Linked DNA regions of Homo sapiens: all the other regions are linked to region 1. The links are contacts of gene promoters, found by promoter capture Hi-C in blood cells and fetal thymus (Javierre and others, 2016). All regions are on one chromosome and are shown on one strand. Each heading gives the region's core, a stretch centred on a gene start or on the middle of the fragment in contact. The rest is flanking DNA. Distances are from core to core; before and after follow the strand shown. Region 1 holds the start of FOXM1 (forkhead box M1). Region 2 overlaps CACNA1C (calcium voltage-gated channel subunit alpha1 C). Region 3 has its middle 19 kb from the start of TSPAN9. Region 4 overlaps TEAD4 (TEA domain transcription factor 4).

The links. Contacts are between HindIII fragments. The CHiCAGO score rates a contact against its expected background, and 5 or more counts as called.
Region 2: a contact is called between a fragment that was not itself captured here and the fragment with the promoter of FOXM1 in region 1, in 1 of 17 cell types (fetal thymus). The highest score is 5.0, in fetal thymus.
Region 3: a contact is called between a fragment that was not itself captured here and the fragment with the promoter of FOXM1 in region 1, in 2 of 17 cell types (endothelial precursors and megakaryocytes). The highest score is 9.8, in endothelial precursors.
Region 4: a contact is called between a fragment that was not itself captured here and the fragment with the promoter of FOXM1 in region 1, in 2 of 17 cell types (endothelial precursors and megakaryocytes). The highest score is 8.2, in endothelial precursors.

What each region holds. Positions count from the first base shown.
Region 1 is chr12:2,875,275-2,878,843 of GRCh38, reverse strand. It overlaps FOXM1 (forkhead box M1), which reads left to right and starts at 1,670. Exons shown (of 9, transcript NM_021953.4): 1 at 1,670-1,924. RHNO1 (RAD9-HUS1-RAD1 interacting nuclear orphan 1) reads right to left here and starts at 1,621. Exons shown (of 3, transcript NM_001252499.3): 1 at 1,562-1,621. RefSeq lists silencers at 1,365-1,804, 1,845-1,914. The HindIII fragment of the contact is 3,757 bases long and covers 303-3,569 here.
Region 2 is chr12:2,680,627-2,684,195 of GRCh38, reverse strand. CACNA1C (calcium voltage-gated channel subunit alpha1 C) reads right to left here. Exons shown (of 47, transcript NM_000719.7): 43 at 1,518-1,646. The region is part of intron 3 of CACNA1C-AS1 (CACNA1C antisense RNA 1); the gene reads left to right. Among named protein-coding and RNA genes, the nearest start is that of CACNA1C-AS1, 8.7 kb to the left of the region's middle. The HindIII fragment of the contact is 2,041 bases long and covers 756-2,796 here.
Region 3 is chr12:3,056,576-3,060,144 of GRCh38, reverse strand. No RefSeq gene overlaps it. Among named protein-coding and RNA genes, the nearest start is that of TSPAN9, 19 kb to the left of the region's middle. The HindIII fragment of the contact is 1,356 bases long and covers 1,255-2,610 here.
Region 4 is chr12:3,027,621-3,031,189 of GRCh38, reverse strand. The region is part of intron 10 of TEAD4 (TEA domain transcription factor 4); the gene reads right to left. Among named protein-coding and RNA genes, the nearest start is that of TSPAN9, 48 kb to the left of the region's middle. The HindIII fragment of the contact is 2,524 bases long and covers 625-3,148 here.

The DNA.
Region 1 (3,569 bases), core at 421-2,920:
TCATTATTCCTTCAGTTATGCAGCTGAAAATCTTGACACTTCTACCTCCCATCCAACCCACCATCAAGCCCTGTCAACTTTACCTCTTAAACATGTTTTCTTAATGCCCCTTTTTTACTCTCTCTGTCTCCTTCTTTCTCTTCCTCTCTCTCTCTCCCTGCCACCCTTTTTCAAGCTCCAGCAGTTCTTGCCTGGAGTATTGCAACATCCAACTGTTCTGCCCTAATCCACTCTAGCAATCCCCGCTATAGAGGGACCTTTTAAAATGCAAATCTGACCTGGATTCACTTCTGCTTAAAGCTTATGACTGGTTTCCTTTAATTCTTGGATAAGCACAAAACTTCTCGGTATGGCTAAGGCTCTGCTTCCTCCGGCTCCAGCTTCAACTCACACCACACTCCATTCAGGTCGATTAGCTCAAACCCCTCAGATATTTCTCAGCCTTTGTACTCACTGTGCTTCCTCCTGCCATCCAGCCTTTGCACGCCTGATTCCCTCTGCTTAGAGGAGTTCCCTCCTTTCTTTGTAAAAGGCATCAGATCTCACACCAAGCTCTCATTACAAAAGCCTTTCCTGTCCTACCTCTCAAGATCTCGTTATTGTAAATACTCAAAGTATCATTAACCTCTAATGTTTCAATTTACAGCAATAATTCAACATTTGTTTGTTTTGGAGACGGTGTCTCCCTCTGTCGCCCAGGCTGGAGTGCAGTGGTGTGATCATGGCTTACCATAGCCTCCACCTCTCGGCCTCAGGTGATCCTTCCACCTCAGCCTCCAGAGTAGCTGGGACTACAGGCACGCACCACCACGCCCGGCTAATTTTTAGTAGAGAAGCGGTTTCGCTATGTTGCCAGGCTGGTCTCGAACTCGTGACCTCAAGTGATCCACCCGCCTCGGCCTCCTAAAGTGCTGGGATTACAGGCGTGAGCCACTATGCCCAGCCCACATTTGTTTATTTGATTAAAATGTCTGTGCCCCTCTTCCAGGATTGGGCTGTGAGCCCAGGGGAAGGAAAGAACCTTGTCTGCCATTGTATCTTCAGGGCCTAGCGGTGCCTGGCGCACAGCAGTTGCTCAACTAGACTGGTTGACTAAGTCAATAAATAAAGCACTACGGTCTATTATATCCGAAGGCTTGGCTTCGGGAGGGGCAAAAGACAGGTTTCGCGCTGAGGTAGGGTTCATGGTGCCGACATTTTTTTTCAAGATGGAAGAAAGCGGAGATAATACGCAGCCCTCAAAGGAACTTAGTCTAATCGGGGGGAGCAGACGATCGTTCACTGTGGGAAAATGGGGTACGATTTCCCCCAGTGAGGAAATCAACTAAAGCCGAGCTTTGAAAAGGGGAGCAGAGGAGCCTGAGGGGAAGCGGGGGCGTGTCGCCTGGCGTGACCAGCGCGGCAGGAAAAGCGGGCCCAGGGACCCGGGCCTGTCACGCCGCTTCCGCGCGTCCCCAAACTCTCCCTCGGCTCGCCCACCCACGCGGCGGGGACCCCTCCGGCCCCTCCCCGGCCCCACGGCCACTTCTTCCCCCACAAGCCGGCCTGCGGTCCGCCTTACCAGCCCGGGCCGGACGGGGCCGCAGCTCCTGGCAGACCGCACAGCCTTCGAGCCCGGAATGCCGAGACAAGGCCGGCGCCGATTGGCGACGTTCCGTCACGTGACCTTAACGCTCCGCCGGCGCCAATTTCAAACAGCGGAACAAACTGAAAGCTCCGGTGCCAGACCCCACCCCCGGCCCCGGCCCGGGACCCCCTCCCCTCCCGGGATCCCCCGGGGTTCCCACCCCGCCCGCACCGCCGGGGACCCGGCCGGTCCGGCGCGAGCCCCCGTCCGGGGCCCTGGCTCGGCCCCCAGGTTGGAGGAGCCCGGAGCCCGCCTTCGGAGCTACGGCCTAACGGCGGCGGCGACTGCAGTCTGGAGGTGAGCGGGATGCAGCAATGGAGTCCCAGGCCTGGCCTGGGCACAGGCGGGGAGCAAGGCCTCCGGGCGCGGAGGTCAGGGCGTCTAGCAGCAGGGCACGGGCCACGAGTGGAGATTTGGGTCACACGGGAAGAATCTGAGCCAGGGTGCAAGTTTTTTCTGCGTCCACCTCCTGGCCGTGGCCTTCTCACTGCTTAAAGCGCCCCTTGGCCTTCCCTGGAAGTCTGACCTCCGCACCCTGCCCGCGGCCTCGGGAGGGCTGGGGTGGCCTACCTTCTTAGGCCGACTGTGGCTGAGATGAAGACTGAGATTGTACTACATTGAGTCAAAGACCAACCTGCATACACACTCCCCTGCTCCCAGGCTGTCTCACCACTAGGCAACACCGCCTCCATCTTACTTACCCTTTTGCAGGGCCCTTTTCCTGGTTCTTGAGAATGTAGCAAGATTTCCCCGCTCAGGATGGGGATGGGTCGGAGGAGCCACTCTGGAAGTTTCCCGGGCAAGAAAGTGTTGGCAATAATAATAACGGGCTGGTCAGGAAGTAGAAGAGAAAATTAAGACTTAGATATCCTGTGGAAAAAGAGGAATAATATCTACTGATTGATGCGGGGAGAGAGGGAAGCCTGGAAAGATCGGAGGTGAAAGTAAAACTGAGATTTGAAGGTAGAGGTGTGGAGGGCCTGTGAACTCTATGCAGATGACAAATGTCAAAAAAGTGCAGTTGCTTTTCAGGGAGAGAATAAGTGTCCTAAAAAAGAGACAGCCAATTCCTCTGTCTTCCAAAGTTCCGTGAAATAGAATTACACAATTTTGCTTAATGGTAGAATATTCCATGTATCTATTAAAATCAACAAAAGGCCGGGCGCAGTGGCTCACGCCTGTAATCCCAGCACTTTGGGAGGCCGAGGCGGGTGGATCACCTGAGGAGTTCAAGACCAGCCTGGCAAACATGGTGAAACCCTGTTTCTACTAAAAAAAAAAAAAAAAAATTAGCTGGGCATGGTGGTGCATGCCTGTAATTGCAGCTACTCGGGAGGCTGAGGCAGGAGAATCGCTTGAACCCGGGAGGCCGAGGTTGCAGTGAGCTGAGATTGCGCCATTGCACTCCAGCCTGGGTGACAAGAGCGAAGCTCCGTCTCAAAAAAAAAAAAAAAATTAAAAAAAATCAACAAAAGACTTAAAAAAAAAAGACTACACTGTTAGCATTTCAGAACCACCTTAGTGTAATGATGATAGCTCATTGTGGTACTAAGAAGACAGGGGTTATAGTCTTATTTCTGGAAAAGAAATTAATAAAGTGGCATGCTTAGTTAAAATATATATAACCACATGCAAGTACTAAAATGCCACTGTATAAATACAATACAAATTGTAAAAGAAAACATGCTTTTTAAATTAGAGCAAGTATAATAGCCTGTGAAATAAATGTCACCCTCTAGAGTTGTTCAGTGCACAAGCTGCACAACTTTACATGGGCCTTCAGTAGAGGTTTCCATTTTATGTGAGGTTTTGTAAACTGGGAGATGATTTTTCCAGTAGTGTGGCAATAGTACAATCTGCCTTTCTTCCCTGATTCTGTGTGCACTGGTCCTATTTACAAAGTAATATAAAAATCAAAAGGCTTGGCCAGACGCGGTGGCTC
Region 2 (3,569 bases), core at 527-3,026, 190 kb after region 1:
GGAAAAGGAGGTGCTTCTGCTACTCTTCCCATCCAGTTCCCGAGCAGAAAGCACTGGACCCCAGGAAGCCGCATGCTGTGCTGGCCTGGCTGCCATTCTCCCCACACTCCTCAGGGTGGGGCACCTGGTGTCCCCTCCCACCACCTCCAGCCACACCTTTCCTGTCTTCAAAAGCCTGCAAGGCTAGTCCTTCCTCACTCTGAAGTCCTTTCAGGAACTGAATGGACTGACATGCTGGGAGGGGTCGGTGAGGGCTTCCCTCCCGCCCTGGGCCCCCGTGGGGCTCCTCCCTGTCTGCATCGGCAGCTCCAGGGTTCCCTGGCGGGGCTGAGAGAGGACACACCCTGCATCGTGCCTGGCCACGCTTCACTGTGCTGCCGTTCCAGAGTGGGACAGTGGCTCCCAGCAGGTGGCACAGCCCCCCAGCATCCCAGGTTCTTGACATGCCTGCCCTCCAGCTCAGAAAATAATAGAGAAGTGGGAGCTTCTCTCTAAACCCCTGGAAAAGTGTCCATCCAAGGAGCAGGCACACCTGCCGCTGGCCTGCCTGTCCCTCCAGAGGGCCCATTTTCAAGTGGCTGCACGCAAGCCCATGGGACCCAGGCATTACCCCCTGGGGAAAACCCCATGCCTCAATTTCCCTTTCTACAAAATTGAAATGACATATGCCCTCTCTGTCTCAGAGGCCTGTTGTGAGTCATGTATACAGTAACAGATGAGACAGGGCTTTGAGGGTGAAAAGAGCCAGAAAAGCTTCGGAAACACTGTGTCTCAAACTTCTGTGGATGTCACTCTGTGTCTCAAACTTCTGTGGATGTGACTCAGAGTCATAAAGATGTTTCTCAAGGAGACCCCCAGATAGCCACATCTGTTGGCAATTAAGCAAGTGTTTCCCAGCACAGCGCTTACCTTTGTGACGTTTGACGCATTCTGATAGTTTCTGATATTGTGCTGTGCTGCACCTGCTTTTAAGGGCTAGTCATTAGTGACCAAATGGATGTCACCACCTTCTAAAGGATCTAGAACTGCAGCTAAAAATACTCTAAGAATGGCAGCAAGGACAAAAATCTCAGGCCTGGCTTTGCCACCAGTGCCCTCTTCTGGGCAGCTTCATTATAAGCAGTGTCTTGAAACACTTGTTTAATTATCTATATATGTATGTGCATACTGAGTCTCACCAGAAAATATATTTATGACTGTGTCTTACAGCCTACAATGTTTATAAAACAATGTTCAGAAATTTTCCTGGCGAGGAAACCCCAAGCTAAAAAGGGCATCGTGTATGTGTGTGTTGTGTGTGTCTGTGTGTGTGTGTGGTGTGTGTGTGTTTGTGTGTGTTGTGTGTTGGGGGGCTCCCATTTCACTGAGGAGATGAAAGAGGCGGTGCAGATGTTTTCTCTGTGATCTCCTCTCCTCCTGCAATCAGCCCCAGAGGAGGGATCTCAGGGACCTGCCTCTGCCTCCCCACATTTGTTCCCACACTTGGGTCAGCCTCAGCAGAGGGCAGCAGAGCTCACATCTCTGTGGAGAGCAGGCTGGGCTCACTGCAGGCCTCCGTGTCATGGTTCATCTTCACTTCATAGGTCTCATCCTGAGACGTCTCCTCCTGACCCGCCATGGCTGCCTGGCTCTCCCGGGAGTGGCACCTACAATATCCAAGATGAAGAAAAACATCAGAAACTGCCAACCTTCCTCCACTTCCTTCAGCAAGTAAAGCATCACACACGCACACACATGCAGGTGTACACACGTGCACAAACACAAGCACACACACGTGAACAGGCATACAGTTGCTGGTGCTTTGTTCTCCTGTGATTGCTGATGGATCCATAGAAGTGTTCAGATTAGGGTGAGGGTCCCATTTGGGAGAAGGATGTCTGCTGTGGATCCAGGAGTCCTGACCCCAATCCACTTACCCTCTGGTCCAAGTCACTTGGTCCACCTCATGCCTCAGTTTCCCTATGAAATTGGAATGACATATGCCCTGCCTAACTTAGAGGCTGCCCCCCACTCACCTCCAGCTATGACACCTGGGTCTTTGGCATTTGGCATAGCTGAGAAGTCCTTGGCCTCTTATTTTGATGGTGCCCTTGATTCTGACACTGGCACCCTGGGGTAAAGGCACAGAGAGGAAGCCTCACCTAGAGGGGTTTGCTCTCCTGAGCAGAAGGCAGTGAGCCTGAGTCCCTGCTGAGCCTGAATCCCTCCTGAGCTCCAGATCCTCACACATCGGAACGTGCCTTTCCCTGCTGGGACAGGGTCAGGTCATCTTTAGCTCTGGACCAAGGCCTCTTCCTTTTCCTGTCTGAGCTCAGCTCAGTGCCTCCCTTTGTCTTGCTTTCTATAGACCTTGCATGCTGGGCCCACTTTATCCTCAGACCCCTGAGGGCATCAGAGAAAGATCCTGGTCCATCCTCTCAGAGCCGAGTGCTAAATCAGTGCCCTGGCTCTGAGCATCCCAGGCAGGGTAGAAGCAATTCTCTCTCTCGAGGAGGAGGACTGCAGACTGCCACCCGCCCCGCAGTGGAAGGAAAGATGAGAGGTGGGAGCTCCAGGAGGACTGGGAGGGGAGGGAGGTGGAGTGGGCTTTGGTGAAGCACGGAGGGAGGAGCTGGAGACGCAGAGCAGCAGCAGGCAGGCAGCAGCACTTTTGGGGGCCACCGGGCACAGGACGTGCTGGCCCATCCTCAGCACAAGCAATGCTGGCACTAGAGCTGCCGTTAGCCTTGAGCTGTGACACGGGGACAAGGGAGCTGGGACGTGGGCTATGCTCCTCCTCTTCACCAAGCTGAAGCTTGATGCCCTGTGTGTTGTTTGTACCATCTGCAGTGGGCAGAGGGAACCGACATTTCATGAGCACCGACTGTGTGCTGGGCACTGTGCCGGGTGCTTTGCATGTATTTTGCTATGTGGAGAGATATATCTGTGGGGACAAGGAAATCCCCTGGGGTCTCCTCCCCCAGCTCCTCTAAACATCCCTCTCCCCTTATGTCACAGAGAACAAAGCTTCACATGAAAATGCCCTTAGAGGGTGGGGAATTAGTTCACCCTGAGATGCTAAAGACGGACGTGGAGCCCTCCTTAAGCAGAAGCTTCATGAGGCCAGAGGGGAGAAGGGGGTATGGGGACCCAGTACTTGGGTCCTCAAAGGCCGTGGAAGGGGAGTGAGGTTGCAGAGAAGGATGAGGCCCCCACAACAGGTGCAGGCCCCCAAGACTAGATGCCTAGATTAGATCCTCTCCTATGCAAAGCCAGCCCTTCAGGCCGGCACATAAAATCCAGTGCCCAGCACACTGCCCTGTGCACACAGAAGGCAGCAGTGCAGGCCTCATGAATTGAAGGATGCCCCCAGTGCTGCTTCTGGGTGGCTAAACCAGCCAACCTTGCAGAAAGGAAAGCAGACAGGGAGATGGTCCTTTTAACTGGCCTGTCGTCTGACACAATTAAATGCCTGAGTCCCATGGGCTTGCATGCAGCCCTCTTGAAATGGGCCCTCTGCAGGGACAGGCAGGCCAGCGGCAGGTGTGCCTGCTCCTTGGATGGACACTTTTCCAGGGGTTTAGAGGGAA
Region 3 (3,569 bases), core at 683-3,182, 180 kb before region 1:
CAATAAATGACCAGAGGATGATGGTTGATAAGACACACAAGGAGTATAAAAGTGAAGATGGCACATTTGAAGCCCTTGCCAGGGTGTCTGGGATCTAAGTAGGTATACATCCATTTATGACATTAAAAAGTTCATTAATGTTTTAATTGGAATACACATATGGGGGGAAGGAGGTAGAAAAAAATATATATATATAGTTGTTTTTATAAAAGAAGAATAAGCTGGAAGTTTAAAAGGGGAGAAAAAAATGAAAACCTTTTATAACAGGGTGTATTTTTTTAAAGGACTTAGAGTTGGAGTTGAATTGGACACATCAGCACGAACTCATTTCCCAGCTCCCACTGGAGTGCACTAGAAGCAGACGCCTGCCTTTAGTTCTCACACGGATAATGTGATTCGCACCATGAGCGCCCAGACATAACATTCAACTGATAACATTTGCCACTCAAAGAAACAGGGCTCCTTGGGGAATAGCTGATTCCATACCTTGGTGCAAGAAAAATCAGAGTTGGCCTGAGCAGACTTTGCTAGAAGTATGTAAGTTAAAAAACAAAAATGTTTAAGGTAGTGTTAAAAGGAAAAAGGACGCAGCATAAAAAGTCAAAGCTGGGCCGGGTGCGGTGGCTCACACCTGTAATCCCAGCACTTTTGGGAGGCCAAGGCGGGCGGATCACGAGGTCAGGAGATCGAAACCATCCTGGCTAACACGGTGAAACCCCATCTCTACTAAAAGTACAAAAAAATTAGCCGGGTGTGGTGGCGGGCGCCTGTAGTCCCAGCTACTCGGGAGGCTGAGGCAGGAGAATGGCGTGAACCCAGGAGGCAGAGCTTGCAGTGAGCCGAGATGGCGCCACTGCACTCCAGCCTGGGCGACAGTGCAAGACTCCGTCTCAAAAAAAAAAAAAAAAAAAGAAAGAAAAAAAGTCAAAGCCAGCCAGGCACGGTGGCTCATGCCTGTGATCCCCACTCTTTGGGAGGCTGAGGCAGGAGAGTCACTGGAGGCCAGGAATTCAAGACCAGCCTGGACAACATAACGAGACCCCACATCTACAAAAAATAAAAAAATTAGCTGGGTGTGGTGGCGCGTACCTGTAGTCCCAGCTACTTGGGAAGCCGAAGTGGAAGGATCCCTTGAGCCCAGGTGTTCAAGGCTGCAGTGACATTGTCTCTAAAAAGAAAAGAAAAGAAAGGAAAAAAAGGCAAAACTGTGATCATCTGATTATCAAAAAGAAAACAAAAATGTAGTGAAAAGCTTGAGTCCATAATGGTACTGGATATGGGTTATACTAAAAGTATATGTGAGCTCCTGAAAATGTCAACTGGTTTTTGGTTGTTTTTGTTTTGCCAAAGCCAATTGTTCTGAAGTGTCCACTTTTAAAACACTGTGCATACCATAGCCAAGTTTTGATTCATAATTAAGCTATGAATTTCTTGTACTTTTTTTTTTTTCTTTTGAGACAGAGTCTGGCTCTGTCGCCCAAGTTGGAGTGCAGTGGCGCGATCTCGGCTCACTGCAAGCTCCGCCTCCCAGGTTCACGCCATTCTCCTGCCTCAGCCTCCCGAGTAGCTGGGACTACAGGCGCCCGCCACCACGCCCGGATAATTTTTTGTATTTTTAGTAGAGACGGGGTTTCACCGTGTTAGCCAGGATGGTCTCGATCTCCTGACCTCGTGATCCGCCCGCCTTGGCCTCCCAAAGTGCTGGGATTACAGGCGTGAGCCACCGCTCCCAGCCCGAATTTCTTGTACTTATGTATTTATATCAGGTAATGAGATTTAAAGGACACTCAGGGATGAAAGATGCACTGAGTTATTTAAAAACAAAAAACAAAACAAAACAAAACAGTGAGAGTTCTATGAATCTTGTTAATTCGGCAGGAAAAACTTGACCAAAGGAAGCCACCCACACTGATAATTGCCAGCCTGGGAGAAATGACTGTAGAAGGCACATCCAGGCCCCACTCCCAGACCCAGTGCCCAGGCTCCAAGCATCTCTCCATACTGGAACAGCACGGCAGCTCCAAATCTGGAACTCATACCCCGATCTGTAACCGTACCTCAGACCTACATCTTCAACTGATTTCAGCCCAACTGTGAGGCTAATTCTGCTTTCTTTCTTTGGATAGAGGCTTAAAAATAAATATAAAGAAGATGATGGACACGAACGTACATTAATACTCTTGTAATACCTTTAAGGAGTAACTACTTTAATAGCTTTAGGTAATAACTACTGCAAACACTGGGATGATTTGGGTTTTATCTGCTTTTAGTTGAGGTAAAATTCACGTAACAAAATTAACCACTAATGACTTTAAAGTATAGAATTTTAAAATCTGCTTTTTAAAGTGTTGGAAAAGTGTAAAAGCATGTGACATTAAACTTGTGATATTAGTTTAGTATTTAGGTAGATTAAGTTTGGTGGTTAAATGCTTAAATAAATCTAATTGGGTCTATAAATTGAGGCTATGTTTTGTGAATAGTGTTTAAATTATTAGTGCTACATGCTTAGTGTCTAAGATTTTGTTAGATTTGTATATCTGCCTTGTTAGATGTTTGAATATTAATATTAATATAGTTTAAACAGCCTAAGCTAATTTAATTAATCAAGCTTATAAGTAATATTTAATGTTTAGAGAATTTATAAGCTAATCAGGCATTAATCAAAGAACAAGTGATAGAAATACTAGATTTATGAGCAAAGTAACATAAAAATACTAGATTTATGAGCAAAGTAATAAATTGTATGAGTTGAACTTAACAAAACTAGTCTTGAAAATGTACAACTTTGGGTGCAGTGGCTCATGCTTGTGGTCCCACCATTTTGGGAGGCTGAGGCAGGAGCATCACATGGGACCAGGAGTTGAAGGCTGCAATGAGCCATGATTATACCACTGTGCTCCAGTTTGGGTGACAGAGCGAGACTCTGTCCCCCCAAAACAAAGTAAAACAAATAAAAATGAAAATAACAATAAAATGTACACCTTCAATAAACTGGAAACATAAGTAAAATACACAAATAAATTTGTTCCTCTCCACGCATAAAAGCTTCCCTCAGGCATTAAAAACTCAACTGACCATGACTTAGTAGCTTATAAACTAACACAAAAGTATAGAAAGAGATTTATTTGTTGAAATTTTGACAGTTAAAAATATTACAAGTCAAATTAAAAGGAAGCACCTCTTTCAAATTTAATTTTCTTTCATTCATTTTTATTGGTGTTTTGTTTGTAAAGAGAAAAGTCACTAATTTTTACAAACGGTGATGAATATGCTGCTCAAATGCATACCTTTCCATGGAAGGAAGTCTCTGTATCCCACTCATATCCCTACTCCATCTCCATGGGGGAGAGGAGTTATCATGGATTGACCATGGCTTTGGGGTGATCAATCTGTACCTGGTCAAAAAGTCTAGCTCTGTTGTTTCTCAAACTTCAGGAACCCCCTGAGGATTTTGACTGGGAAGGGCTGGAGTGGGTGGGGTGAGGTTTGCACGTGCAGTGGGCTCCCAGATGACGCACTGGCACTCTTCCGGGGACCACGCTCTGAAGCCCAGAAAGTAGGTGCTGTTC
Region 4 (3,569 bases), core at 637-3,136, 150 kb before region 1:
CTCAGACTCACAGCAGGGTTGGGAAGCGCCACTGCCAGCTGTACAGGTTCCAATTCCCACAACCGGGGCTGGACGGGAGACTGGGAGATGATTTAAGCCCCTCCTGAGAAAAAGTGGACAGCATCCTGCCTCCCACGCCACACCCTGAAGCCAGCCTCTCGGCCGAGGTCCTCAGGAGGCACATGCGTCTTGCCTGGTCTCCACTGCAGGAGTCTCACACCTGCTTCCAGTCTGGGTGCCAGAGTTAACCAACTAAGCACAACCCTGGCCACGTCCTGCCCTGTTCGAAAACCTTAAATGACTCCTCATCGCTTAAGGAGAAGGGCTAACAAATATTTCCCTGGCTACGCACGTGGCCATGACCGTCCACCCAGCACTCCTCCCTGCTAGAGCCTTCTCAGCCCAGCACTCCAAACAGCGACTGCCGACCCCTTCGAAGTGGCACACAGGTCACCCCATCATCCTGGACACCTGGCTAAAGGTGGGAGACTGACTACCCCAGTTTATTTTTTCCCCTTCCAGAGACCCAGCTAGAAGGACAACAGCAAGTAACTTTAAACAATATGCAGCACCACAAAGATAAAGAAAACAAAGAGACCAGCTGACAAGAGAGCTGGGCAAGCTTTGGAGACTCAAAGCTGATTAGGACCACACTGGATTCCACGGGGTAGAGAAAGCAAAAAGAGTCACAACCTACCAATATCTTCAGGGGTGACAGATAAGAAGCTGAGCTGCGTGGCTCGGAGCTGGAGGGAACAGGATTTGTCCCCAGGAACTGACAAAAAGTCTGTACACTGGACAGTCCAGCCCCCAGGCCCACCCCTCCCATGCATCGGTAGAAGATCAAAGGGTCAGCCGGGTATGGTGGCTCCTGCCCGTAATCCCATTACTTTGGGAGGCTGAGGCAGGAGAATGGCTTAAGCCCAGGAGTTTAAAACCAGTCTGGGCAACATAGCAAGACCCTGTCTCTATGAAATTAAAAATTAAAAAACACACCAACAAACAAAAAAACTTTTTAAAGAGGACCAAAGGGTGACCATCTTCAGAAATTAAACAGGAGGGCAACAGGTCTCAGGGACACAGGGCTTATTCAAAAGAGAGGGAAGAGGGGGAGTAAGAACAGGAGAGTTAAGTGAAAGCCAGCATCAGAAATGGTCAGGGCCCCTACCCCCGACCCTTTATCCCACTACCAGAACACTTGTGACCAAGTATGTCCCTTCCAGGGAAATTAGATGAATCGTCTCTGGAGAAACTAAATCACCTCAGGGGGAAAAAAAAGTCCAGTAAACACACATATTTATTGATTTCCCCAATAAAACAGCTAGCTCCCCAAGCCCAATCACCCTAAAGCGAAACCCACCAGGTGACAAGTCCTACCTTGCACGAAGAGCTCCCAGTCACTACTAAATATAACCAGAACAAATAACAAAAGGAAAACTTGATAAACTGGACATCATCAACACTAGAAACGTTTGTGCATCAAAGGACACTACTAGGAATGTGAAAAGGGGCCAGGCACAGTGGCTCACACCTGTAATCCCAGCACTTTGGAAGGCTGAGGCAGGAGGATCACTTGAGGCCAGGAGTTCAAGACCAGCCTGGGCAACATAGTGACACCCTCTATAAAAAATTTAAATAAAAATAAAAACTTGGGCCGGGCGCGGTGGCTCACGCCTGTAATCCCAGCACTTTGGGAGGCCGAGGCTGGTGGATCACGAGGTCAGGAGATCGAGACCATCCTGGCTAACACAGTGAAACCCCGTCTCTACTAAAAATACAAAAAAATTAGCTGGGCGTGGTGGCGGGCGCCTGAAGTCCCAGCTACCTGGGAGGCTGAGGCACAAGAATGGCGTGAACCCGGGAGGCGGAGCTTGCAGTGAGCCGAGATCATGCCACTGCACTCCGGCCTGGGTGACAGAGTGAGACTTCATCTCAAAAAAAAAAAAAAAAAAAAAATTGGCCAGGCGTAGTAGTGCATGCCTCTAGTCCCAGCTACTCAAGAAGTTGAGGCGGGAGGATCACTTGAGCCCAAGTTCAAGGTTGCAGTGAGCAATAATCATGCCAGTGCACTCCAGCCTGGAAGACACAGCAAGACCCTGTCTCTGAAGAAAAAAAGAAAAAAGAATGTGAAAAGACATTCAACAGAATGGGAAATAATAATTACAAATCATATAACTGATAAGGAACTTTCATCCAGAACTAAGAACTCATAATTCAATAATAAAAAATAACCCAATTTATTATAAAAATGGGCAATGGGGTTGGGGACAGCGGCTCACACGTGTAATCCCAGCACTTTGGGAGGTTGAGGCAGGCGAATCGCTTGAGCTCAGGAGTTCAAGACCAGCCTGGACAACATGGTAAAACCCCGCCTTTACCAAAAATACAAAAATGAGCTGGGCATGGTGGTGCGTGCCTGTAATTCCAGCTACTCAGAAGGCTGAGGTACGAGAATCAGTTGAACCTGGGAGGCAGAGGTTGCAGTGAGCCAAAATTACGCCGCTGTACTCCAGCCTAGGTGACAGAGAAAGACTGTCTCAAAAAAAAAAGGGCAATGGACCTAAATTTCTGAATTGGCATTTCTACAAAGAAGATATACGAATGGCCAGTAAGCACATGAAAAGATGCTTACCATCATCAGTCATCAGGGAAATGCAGATAAAAACCACAATGAGATACCACTTCACATTTGCTAGGATGGCTACAATCAGAGAATATCAAGTGTTGGTGAGGATGTGGAGAAAATAGGATCCTCATACCCTCATACCCTGCAGGTGGGAACAGAAAACGGTGCAGCCACTTCGGAAGACTCTTGGGAGTGCCTCAGAAAGTGAAAGAGAGTTGCCATATGACCCAGTAATTCCAGACATAAGCATATGGAAATGAAAATGAACGTCCACACAAACACTGGTACGTAATGTTCACAGTAGCACTACTCCTAACAGCCAAGAGGAGACAACCCAAATGCCCATGAACTGATGAATGGATAAACAATGTGGACTCTCCGTACATTTGGCCATAAAAAGGAACGTACGTGCTACAACATGGTTGAACCTTGAAAACACTATGCCAAGTTCAAGAAGCCAGTCACAAAAGACCACATCCTCCACAAACCCTTTTATACAAAATGTCCAGAATAGGCAAAGCTTCAAAGACAGAAAGTAGATTATTGCACAGGGCTGGGGGGTAGGAGTGGGGAGTGACAGCTAAAGGGAACAGGGCTTATTTTCGGGATGATGAAAATGTTCTAAAATTGATTGTGGTGATGGTTGCACAACTTTGTGAATATACTTAAAAACTCGGAATTGTATACTTTATTTTTTGAGATGGGATCTTGCTCTGTCACCCAGGCTGCAGTGCAGTGGTGTGATCTCAGCTTACTACAACCTCTGCCTCCCAGGCTCAAGCGATCTTCCCATCTCAGCCACCTGAGTAGCTTGGATTACAGGCACGCACCACCATGCCTGGCTAATTTTGGTATTTTTAGGAGAGATGGGGTTTTGCCATGTTGGCCAAGCTGGTCCCCAACTCATGGACTCAAGCAATCCACCCGCCTCGTCCTCCCAAAG